2 separate regions of the Homo sapiens genome follow, and region 2 is linked to region 1. Evidence: promoter capture Hi-C in human tissues and cell types (Jung and others, 2019). All regions are on one chromosome and are shown on one strand. The core of a region is centred on a gene start or on the middle of the fragment in contact, and the rest is flanking DNA. Distances in the headings are between cores, read along the strand shown.

Evidence for each region. The method cuts DNA at HindIII sites, captures the fragments that hold promoters and counts their contacts. A contact is called where the count stands out against the background at its distance.
Region 2: a fragment that was not itself captured here is called in contact with the fragment with the promoter of KCNJ12 in region 1 in 1 of the 25 tissues and cell types used here (pancreas).

The regions. Positions count from the first base shown.
Region 1 is chr17:21,373,732-21,378,080 of GRCh38, forward strand. It overlaps KCNJ12 (potassium inwardly rectifying channel subfamily J member 12), which reads left to right and starts at 2,626. Exons shown (of 3, transcript NM_021012.5): 1 at 2,626-3,182. RefSeq lists an enhancer at 1-349. The HindIII fragment of the contact is 9,762 bases long and covers 1-4,349 here.
Region 2 is chr17:21,409,993-21,414,341 of GRCh38, forward strand. The region is part of intron 2 of KCNJ12 (potassium inwardly rectifying channel subfamily J member 12); the gene reads left to right. Among named protein-coding and RNA genes, the nearest start is that of KCNJ12, 36 kb to the left of the region's middle. RefSeq lists enhancers at 1-753, 754-1,713. The HindIII fragment of the contact is 3,641 bases long and covers 430-4,070 here.

The DNA.
Region 1 (4,349 bases), core at 1,376-3,875:
CTCATGGCCTCGGCTGTCACGATCACCCCCATTTTACAGAGAGGGAAGTGGGGCCTTAGCAGGGGACGTGTCCCAGGTCTCCTGCTGGGCAGCGTTGGTACTGGGCTCAGTCCATTTGGCCTCACCCAGCCACTCTCGACACTGCCCCCTCCACACTGTAGGGGCAGGATGTCCTCTGCTCAGGCTTCACGCAGCACCCCGGGAGGGCCGTGAGCCCCTCTGCCCACGTGGGGATCCCTGGGGCAGATGTGTGAGCTGCTTAGGGAGAGATCTGCCCACATCCCTGCCTCTTTGTGTCCCAGCCCCTCCTGGAGGGAGGCTGGTGCCCAGTGGCGTGGCAGAGGGGATTTGCTTTGAGGGGCCCTTAATGGCTGCTCATGGGTTGCAATTACAATTAAGAATTGAACTCTGACCCTGCACGTGGGTTGGGAGGGTGGGACGTGGAGCCCAAGGGAGTGGCCCAGGGAGTCAGGCTTGCGTCTCTGCTGGGTGACCTTGGGCAAGACGCTTGCCCTCTTTGTGAAATGGGTCTGATAATGGCTCTGGGAGTGGGGATAGGGAGGGGCGGAGACCTGGCCTGACTCACAGTAGTCATCTTGGGTGTCGAGCCCCTGGGCAGGGGCCCTGTGTGTGTGTGTGTGGGAAGGGGGGGGTGGTGTTCCAGGCGTGAGGATGCCCTGGGCACAGCCACTTGTCCCAGGAGCTGTCAGAATCTTAGACCCAGAGGAGCCCTGAGGTGTTCCCGTCCATTCCCTTGCCCCTTTCTAGGCCACCAGAGTAAGGCCTCGAGGGAGGGATGTCTCAGGCCCCATTCCTCTTGGGACAGCTGAGTGGTCTCTGAGGGTGGGAGCTGGTTTGAGGCTTCTTCCGCAGCTGGCTTGGGCTTCCCCATCTGGGAAATGGAGCAGGGGCAGGTGGGGAGCTGAGTCATTTCCCTCCTTGGTCACTCGGAGGGAGAAGAAGGAAGTTTCCTGAGAGCTTTTGGTCCCCTGGGAGGCTGTTTCTCCCAGGAGGAGGAGGAAACCAGGACACAGTGTGCCAGGCAGGGCAGGGTGGGGGCTGCAGACTTCTGCGATGCCCCTTCTTTCTCCACTGCAGCCCTAAGTTGAGGACACACCTGATTCTGCGTACTGGCTCCACCATCTGGTAGTTCTGTAATTAAGCAAGTGACCACCCCTCTGTGCCTCAGTTCCTTCATCTGTAAAATGGAGCCAATGAGCTTATCCACCACAGATGGCCGCAGTGGTAATGAAATAATTCTAGCTGGGTCCATAGCACAGAGCTCAGAACATATTGAGTGCTCCGCCTGGCTGTTTTACCAGCCAAGTCAAGTGCTAAGCACTTTAGGTAGACTCATCTCATTTAATCCTTGCTACAGCCCCATGAGTGTAGTGATTTCTACTGACAACAGGGAAACAGAGGCACTGAGTGGTGAAGTGACCTGTCCCACAGCTAGTCAGTTGAGGTGGGATTCAAACCCAGGGCAGACTGATGTCGGTGAGTGCTGGGCTGGATTTCACCCACCAGCTGCCTGGGGCCAGGATCCTAGGGCTGGTGGGGCCTGCAGATCACTCTGCTCTGAGCCGCCAGCAATCTGGGTGCGGGCCAGAGAGCCGTCCTCCTCGGTTAGAATCCTGCAGCCAGTCTCCCTGCTGTGCAGACACATAATTATATTTCACATTAAAGGGGAAGCTGGAGGCCAAGGGGGCCAAGGAGCCCTTTGAGGCTCATGCTCTGGGCACAGACTGGCCTCCTCGGCCCAATTCTGAGGCCCTAGGGCCGAGCTGGGGGTCAGACTGGTGACAAAATGGAGTTCCCCTGGGTCAGTGTCCAGGCGAGCAGGTCTGTCTGCCAGGATGAAAGACTTGGCCCCTGCGGGAGGCTCAGAGATATGAGGCCCAGACAATAGGCCTCAGAAAGCTGGGAGGGCAGGGCATTTGGGGACAGGTTGGGAAGAAAGCCTGAGCCTCCAGAGACAGGGGCTCGAAAGAGAAGGGGGTCACATGGGGATCCGGTCGGCAGAGAGAGGTCCAGGGAGGAGCACAGAGAAGGCAGGAGATGGGAGAAGCCAAGCAGCTCAAGATGGAGAGGAGAAAAATGCTATTAGGGTGGGATGGTGTGTGTAGAGGGTGCGTGCCTGGTGTGCAGGGGAAAAGGGCTCTGTGGGAATGCACAAGCTTAGACCTGTGTGTGCGTATGCACACGTGCAGATGCCATCCTGCATGTGCACATATGAGCGAGTGTGCACATGTGCCCCTGCGAACATCATGCATGTGGGGGCATGTATCCTGCATGTTTATGCCTGTGTGTGTGCTCGCCATGCACCTGTGCGTGCGCGCGTGTCCCCGGCGGACGTGCCTGCATGTGTGTGTATGTGTGTGTGCGCGCATGTCCCCGGGAAGTCGTGCCTGTGTGTGTGTGTGTGTGTGTGTGTGTGTGTGTGTATATATATATGTGTGTGTGCGCGCGCGCGTCCCAGTGCGCAAGTGGCTGGCGGTGTGTGTGTAGGGGGCGGCCCGGGACTAGGAGGGGCTCGGGGCCAGGCCGGAGCCGTGGTAGGCTGGTGCAGCGGCTGCGCGGCGCGGCGCGGCGCGGGGCGGGCGTGCTCTCCGCGGAGAGTTAGAGGAGTTGCCGAGCTGAGCTCCGGTGGAGCGAGGCGCGGAGCTGGGTGCGCGCCGAGCCTCTGCCTCCCGCCGCCTCCTCGCCCTCCATTCCTCGCTCCCCGTCTTCTCCCGGCCACACCGCCACTGCTGCCGCCTCCCTGGGAACAGTAGCCGGGGGAGGGGGACTGGCGCGGTCAGAGCCTGCGAGGAGGTGCGGGGCGCCGGGGCGTAGGGGAGCGCGCCGGGCCCTGCCCGAGATCAGATAACAGCCGGCGGGGGAGGGGGTGGGCCGGCCGTGCTCACAGCCGGACCGAGGGACCGACGCCAGCCGCCCCGGCCCAAGCGAGCGCCCAGCGGCCGGGGGCGCCGTCCAGGCGCGCGCCCCCGACCCGTGGCTGGACCAGGGCGATCCGCTTTGCAGAGAAGACGCGCCCCTCGGCATGGAGCGCCCCCGGGAGCTGCCCTGAGGCGGTGGCGGCAGCGGCGGCGATGCAGCCAGCGCGGCAGCTGCCGGGGCCAGGAACGGCCGCCCGGAGCTTGGAGGACGCCGAGCGCGCCGCGCCCGGGCCACTGACCGAGGTAAGTGCGCGGCCGCGGGCGCATGGTCCCTCCCGGGCCCGGCCCCAGTTCCCCGCAGGCCGCGCCTCGCCACTAGCCCGGCCCGGAGCTAGCACGAGGTTGTGCAGCAACAGGGAAGGTGGAGCGGGAGGGTGTTTTCTTCCTCTCGTTTTATTTTTTTCCCTCCCTTGGTGAGACATCGGAGGAAATGCTGACTGCGAGCTTTTCTTTTCCTGCCATGTCTCCGGCTACCACCACAAGGAACTTTGCTCCTGGCTAACCTTCGTCCTGGGGGGCGCTCCGGGAAACTTTGAGGAGCCCTCGGCCCCCCTCTGACTGGTTTGCACTAGGGGGCTCGGGAGGGAGCGTGCGGAAGCACTCTGGCGCGCGGCACGGGTCCTACGCGTGACCTTCCCGGAGACCCCGCGATCGAGGTGGGGTTCGGAGGTGGGCGCCCGGGCTATATGAGCCGCCCCGAGAATGCCTCCCGTCAGAGACCTGCGGGTTCTTGGAGTCGTGTCTCTTTCTCACCTCCCGTGCTGTAATGGAGTAAAAATATTCTGGAAATGATTCCATGCCAGCAAGTCAGCCAAGTCCAGAGGCTCCCTTTTGCTTTTAGAAGTCGGCCTTGATCTCCGAGGGGATGGCCGCTGGCTGAGAAGCTCCCAGGGTTTCAGGGCCAGGGTCCACCCTGCGCGCGCACGGCCTCTCCGGGTGCCCTGGGGGAGCGGGGCGGGAATCAGGGGCTCATGGGCAGAGACAGCTGGGGTGGGGCGCTCCTTGGGGGGTTCAGATGGGAGTTGAGGCCCAAGCGAGTGTCTGTGCCTCGGTTTTGATCCAGCGTGCCCATGTCATGTGAATATTTTAAAACCTGTGATCAGAATGGGGGTCAAAGTGTTTCTTTGGGGACGGTCTTGTTCTGGGAGGTTTTCCTGCCTCCTCACAGCCTGGACTCGCCCGCACCTGGGACCTCCCCCTCCCCATTTCCCAGGGGGCGTTCCCATCTTAGAGTACCGCGCTGCCTGTGGCCATTTCTAGTTTCTTTTTTGCTCCCCTATACCCAGGTTCGAGCCCTGCAATAAAGCGCTGGGGACCTCCTGGCTCCCACATCTGCGCCCCAAACCCAGGTTCACAGGCTCCGTCTCCGAGAGCGCCGAGGCGCCCACACGCCACTGAAATCGGCAGCCG
Region 2 (4,349 bases), core at 1,000-3,499, 36 kb after region 1:
CCAGATTATGAGACATAGGAATGCCACCCACCACTCTCCCTCTCCCCTCCACACCAGCCTGGGTTCTCCCCCATCCAGCCAAGCTTCCTCACTGCCCCCAGGGTGCCCAACACGTCTTTGCCTCCCACTCCTGGCTCTGGCAGTGTCCCCCAGGAGTGCCCCTCCTGGCTGCCTGTGCCCAGCCTAGCCTTGATGTGGTCCTATACCCTGGGCAGGGCCTGCCATGAGGGAGAGCCCCTAACCCTGCAGCCAGCCCTGCCTCTCACACCCTATGTGACGGAGCAAGGGCACCGGCTCAGAGCCTCAGTCTCCCCATCTGCAAAGGAAGGGCTGGGCTTTCCAGGCCCCAGTGCTGCATCTGATGAATGGTGCCTGGATTAGGAAAGATTCTGAGCTGCTCTGGATGCAGTGGATGAAGCTCTGTGGCTGAGGAATGGTGCTTGCCTGGGCGAGGCTGGAGCAGGCACCTTGGGCGGGGAGGCGTGCGCCAGCCTTCCCTGCATTGAGTGATCTCTGAGGGGTCTTCCAACGGTGAGGCTTGATCATGAGGTAGAGTGCCCCATCTCCGAATGAGGGTGAGTGGCCGTGGGTTGGAGTGCTGGTGAGGGCCCTTGAACCTGTGCTTTTGAGTGCCGATTTGCAGCAGTCTACATCTCATCACCACCTGGGACTGCAGGGGCTTGGGACCAAAAGGATTGCAGTGCCACGCACACAGTCAGGCCTCAGGTCTTGGTGTTGTGGGGCACTGGTTTCACCCCTACAGCCCAGCCTGGAAGCTTCACTCCTGAAAGGCTGTGTAACCATCACAGTGACTCAATCTTCCTAGGCTTCCGTCTGCTCATCTGGAAAATGGGGATAATAATCACAGTGTGATGGAAGGGATTAAATGAATCAGTTTATTAAAGCTCTTAGAAGAGCACGTGGCAGGTAGTAAGCACTTGATAGATACTGAGTGCTGTGTTCGTGCCTCGTGAGGCGCCCCAGCTAGCTGAACAGTCTCTGCATGGGGGATGGGGGCTGTTGGCGCCTCCCCCTCCGAGTCCCTATGTCTTACCCTGGGTGATGCAGGCGCCTGCACTCTCCCTTCCGGTCAGTGCTTTCTTGGTGTCTGGGAATGTGGGTCCAGGCCTTGCCCTGAGCTCCTCCCGGATGTCACCGAAACCTGAGAAGCCCAGGGCCTCAGGGCAGTGGGCATGGGGCATCCAGTTCCATCCGGAAGCACCTCCCGGTGACTCCTGGACCCCACCCTTAGGTCACGTGGCAGCTGCCGTCTGGCATCCTCTCTAAAAGCTCCCAGCCCAGGTCCTGGTCTGTTCTTCAAGTGGACTGGTCGCTGGGAGGCTGCGTCTGTAGGCACTGTGGCCAGCAGGAAAGCAGGGATCTCCGGGGGTCTGCCGGGCCCGTGCTCTCTCCCCACTGCCTGCTCTCTCCCTCCTGGGTTTGCTTCACTGCCCCTTGGTGTTGAAACCGCCTTGTCTAGCTCAGGTAGTGTACCCCAGCGCCCCTCTCCCATTCCCCTCCCGGCGACCCTGGGACCCTGGCAGGCCAACCTGGGTGTCTGCGGAAAACGGTCCTACCTTTAGTAGTGAGCACCTTGTCTTGGCCCTTGAATTGCTTTGTGACCTGGGACAAGTCTCTTTTTCTTTTTGGACTTGGTTCTCCCATCTGTGAAATGGGGAGCCAGCCTTCTTGCTTGCTAAGGCCTCTTCCAGCAAAACAGTTTCTCTGATTTCATGTCTTGTCTGATTTCACTGTATGCACCCCATTGAGCAAGAGCCAAAAAGGCCTGTGTGTCCCTGGTGGAGGATATTGTCCTATATTTCTTATATTGCGACCTTGAAGGCCGCATGGTTGTGTAACATCTTGCCACACCTGTGTTTACGCAGGAGTGTTCTTGAGACATTGTCTAGCTTGTGGTGCTAGGGTTTCTATGCCAGGGTCCCCTTCTGGGTCTGTCTTTGTGGTGCTGTATTCACCAAGTGCCCAGTGAGGGGGCTCCCAGCACCCCTGGGGAGGGTTTCTCTCTCTCTCTCTCTCACACACACACACACGCACACACGGCAGAGCAGGGCTGTGTGAGGCTGAGGACTGACATTCTGGGCTCCAACTCTCTCTTCTGCTCAGTTTCCAGGGGTCCTGGGACAGGTGTCTTTGTCAGTTTTTGGCTCTGAGAAATGAGGGAGTGGGGCATGAACTTGACCTTGTTGATGCTCTCTGTGTGGTAAAACCACGCAGAGAGGAACGTCGACAGAAGTGGGGGTTTCCAAGCCTGTATGACACCATCTGGGCAGGTCTGCGGTGCCCAGCCCTGGCAGAGATGCCAGGAGCTGTGGCAGCACCCTCACCAGTCTGGTAGTTGGCCAGTTTCGAGGCCGCCAGCTGCTGGGAGCACATGCAGACCGGGCTCTCTGGCCTTTAATTCTTGTGATTCTGTTCCTTGCAGGCTTTGAGCTGCTCGGAGCAGGGGCTGGAGCAGCCATGACCCGCTGGAAGTCCCTCAAGGCCCCTGGGCCACACAAATCCAGCCCCTGTCAGCTGGTGGCCTCACGCCGGCGTCTGAGTGCCCCGGCCCTGGCTGCCTCTTTCTGGAGGGTCCAGGAATCTGGGGCTGAGCCCCCTTCCCAGCACAGCCTCAGGGGTCCCCCCTGCTGCCGGCTCCCTACTTCCAGGCCCAGGCAGAAGCAGTGTCCACCATTCCGGCCCTGCGTCCCAGCTCCTCAGCGTCATGGTGAGGTGGTCAGCCACAGCGGTGTTGGGGGAGGACGGCAGAGTAAGGAAAGGCATCCCTGCAGAGCTTGGGGGCCCATGGTGGGGGACGGCGCTAGAGGTGGTTTAAAACTCAACTCTCCTGCTTAATGGCTGTGTGGCCTGGGGGAAGTCACTTAACTTCTCTGAACCTGGATGGTGGCTGCACCCCCGGGTTGTTGAGAGGACGATCTGAGGGCAGCTGTTGATGGATCTGTCCCCCAAGGCGCCCAGGACCCCGCCTGCTCTCCCTGTGTCTCTCTCAGGCGGCAGTTGCTGTGTGCTGCTCGGACCAGCGGGCTCGGGGCTAAGCAACCAGGCAGCCCCTGGGAGTGTTCCACAGCCTGGCCGGGCAGGCGGCTCCACCATCACCTGTTGCTCAGGTGTTTGGAGCAGAGCTCAGAGGCCGCACCCGCTCCGAGGCCCAGACTAGTGTGGACGTGGCCAGAAGCTGGGTCACACAGACCGGGGCTGAGTCCTGGCATTGCTGCCTCCTGCCTATGGGACTGGGACAAGTCCATTCTGGCTTCTGGGCCTCCAGGTCCTTGTTTGTAAAGCAGGGTGGCCCACCCCTCCCTGGAGGGCTTGAGAGGCCTGCAGAAGGCTGTGTGCAGCGCCTGGTTCACAGTGGTGCCATCCCCCCAGGATGTTCTCTTGGGGCCTCAGTGTCTTCGTAACTGAGTAATGTGGCTGCAGGTGTGCTAAGGGAGAAGGCTTTGTCTAGCTCTGAGGTTATGGTGTGACTGGACTGGGACTGGGGGTGCTGGGTCCCTGTGGGCGGGGAGGGGTGGGCCTGTCCAGCTCCTCCGTCGGGGCTAATGCTGGAAGGCCCAGGTCTCCCTGCTTCCAGCCTAGCCCAGCCAAGGCAGGCTGCCATCCAGATGTGGCTGTGGGCCAGGCGGTGCCATAGCCCCTAGCTTGCAGATGCCCTAGCCTGTCACTGACAGGCCAGTGTGGGGCCTTTAGTGGGGGCAGCACAGCCTGTGTGTCCCGGGGGTGGGCACGTCAGTGGCTGAGAGCAGGCTTTGTTCTGGCTGGCATGGATGCCCTGCTGCGGGGCCTGTCCTGGGGTGCCTGAATGTGCAGTAGGCTGGCCTGGAGCCAGGTGCTGCCTGCAGTGAGCTGAGGGTGGTGCTGGGAACAGGTGACACCCCTGAGCACTGCCCAGGTGCTAGGGTAGCAGCCTTGCAATCTTCCTTAGAGATGCGGGAAGCAGGGGCTGGGGAGGGCCCTCGGCTGAGGTCAGCCAGGGAGCAGCCCATGTCTGGGTGCCAGATCTTACCCTCTTTGGCACTGCTGGTGACCAAGAAGCTGCAAGCATGGCATGTGGGTGGACACTGTAGAGTGGGGCATGTGGGTGTCAGGAGGGTGGTGGGACCCAGCTTGGGGTGTTCAAAGTGGGTGGCGACAGGGGTGGCAGGCCGCATTCTAGGCCCTGGGAAGGACAACAAGAAGCAAAAGAGAAAACGTCTCACGCCTGTAATCCCAGCACTTCAGGAGGCCGAGGCAGGTGGATCACCTGAGGTCAAGAGTTTGAGACCAGCCTGGCCAACATGGTGAAACCCCGTCTCTACTTAAAATACAAAAGTTAGCTGGATGTGGTG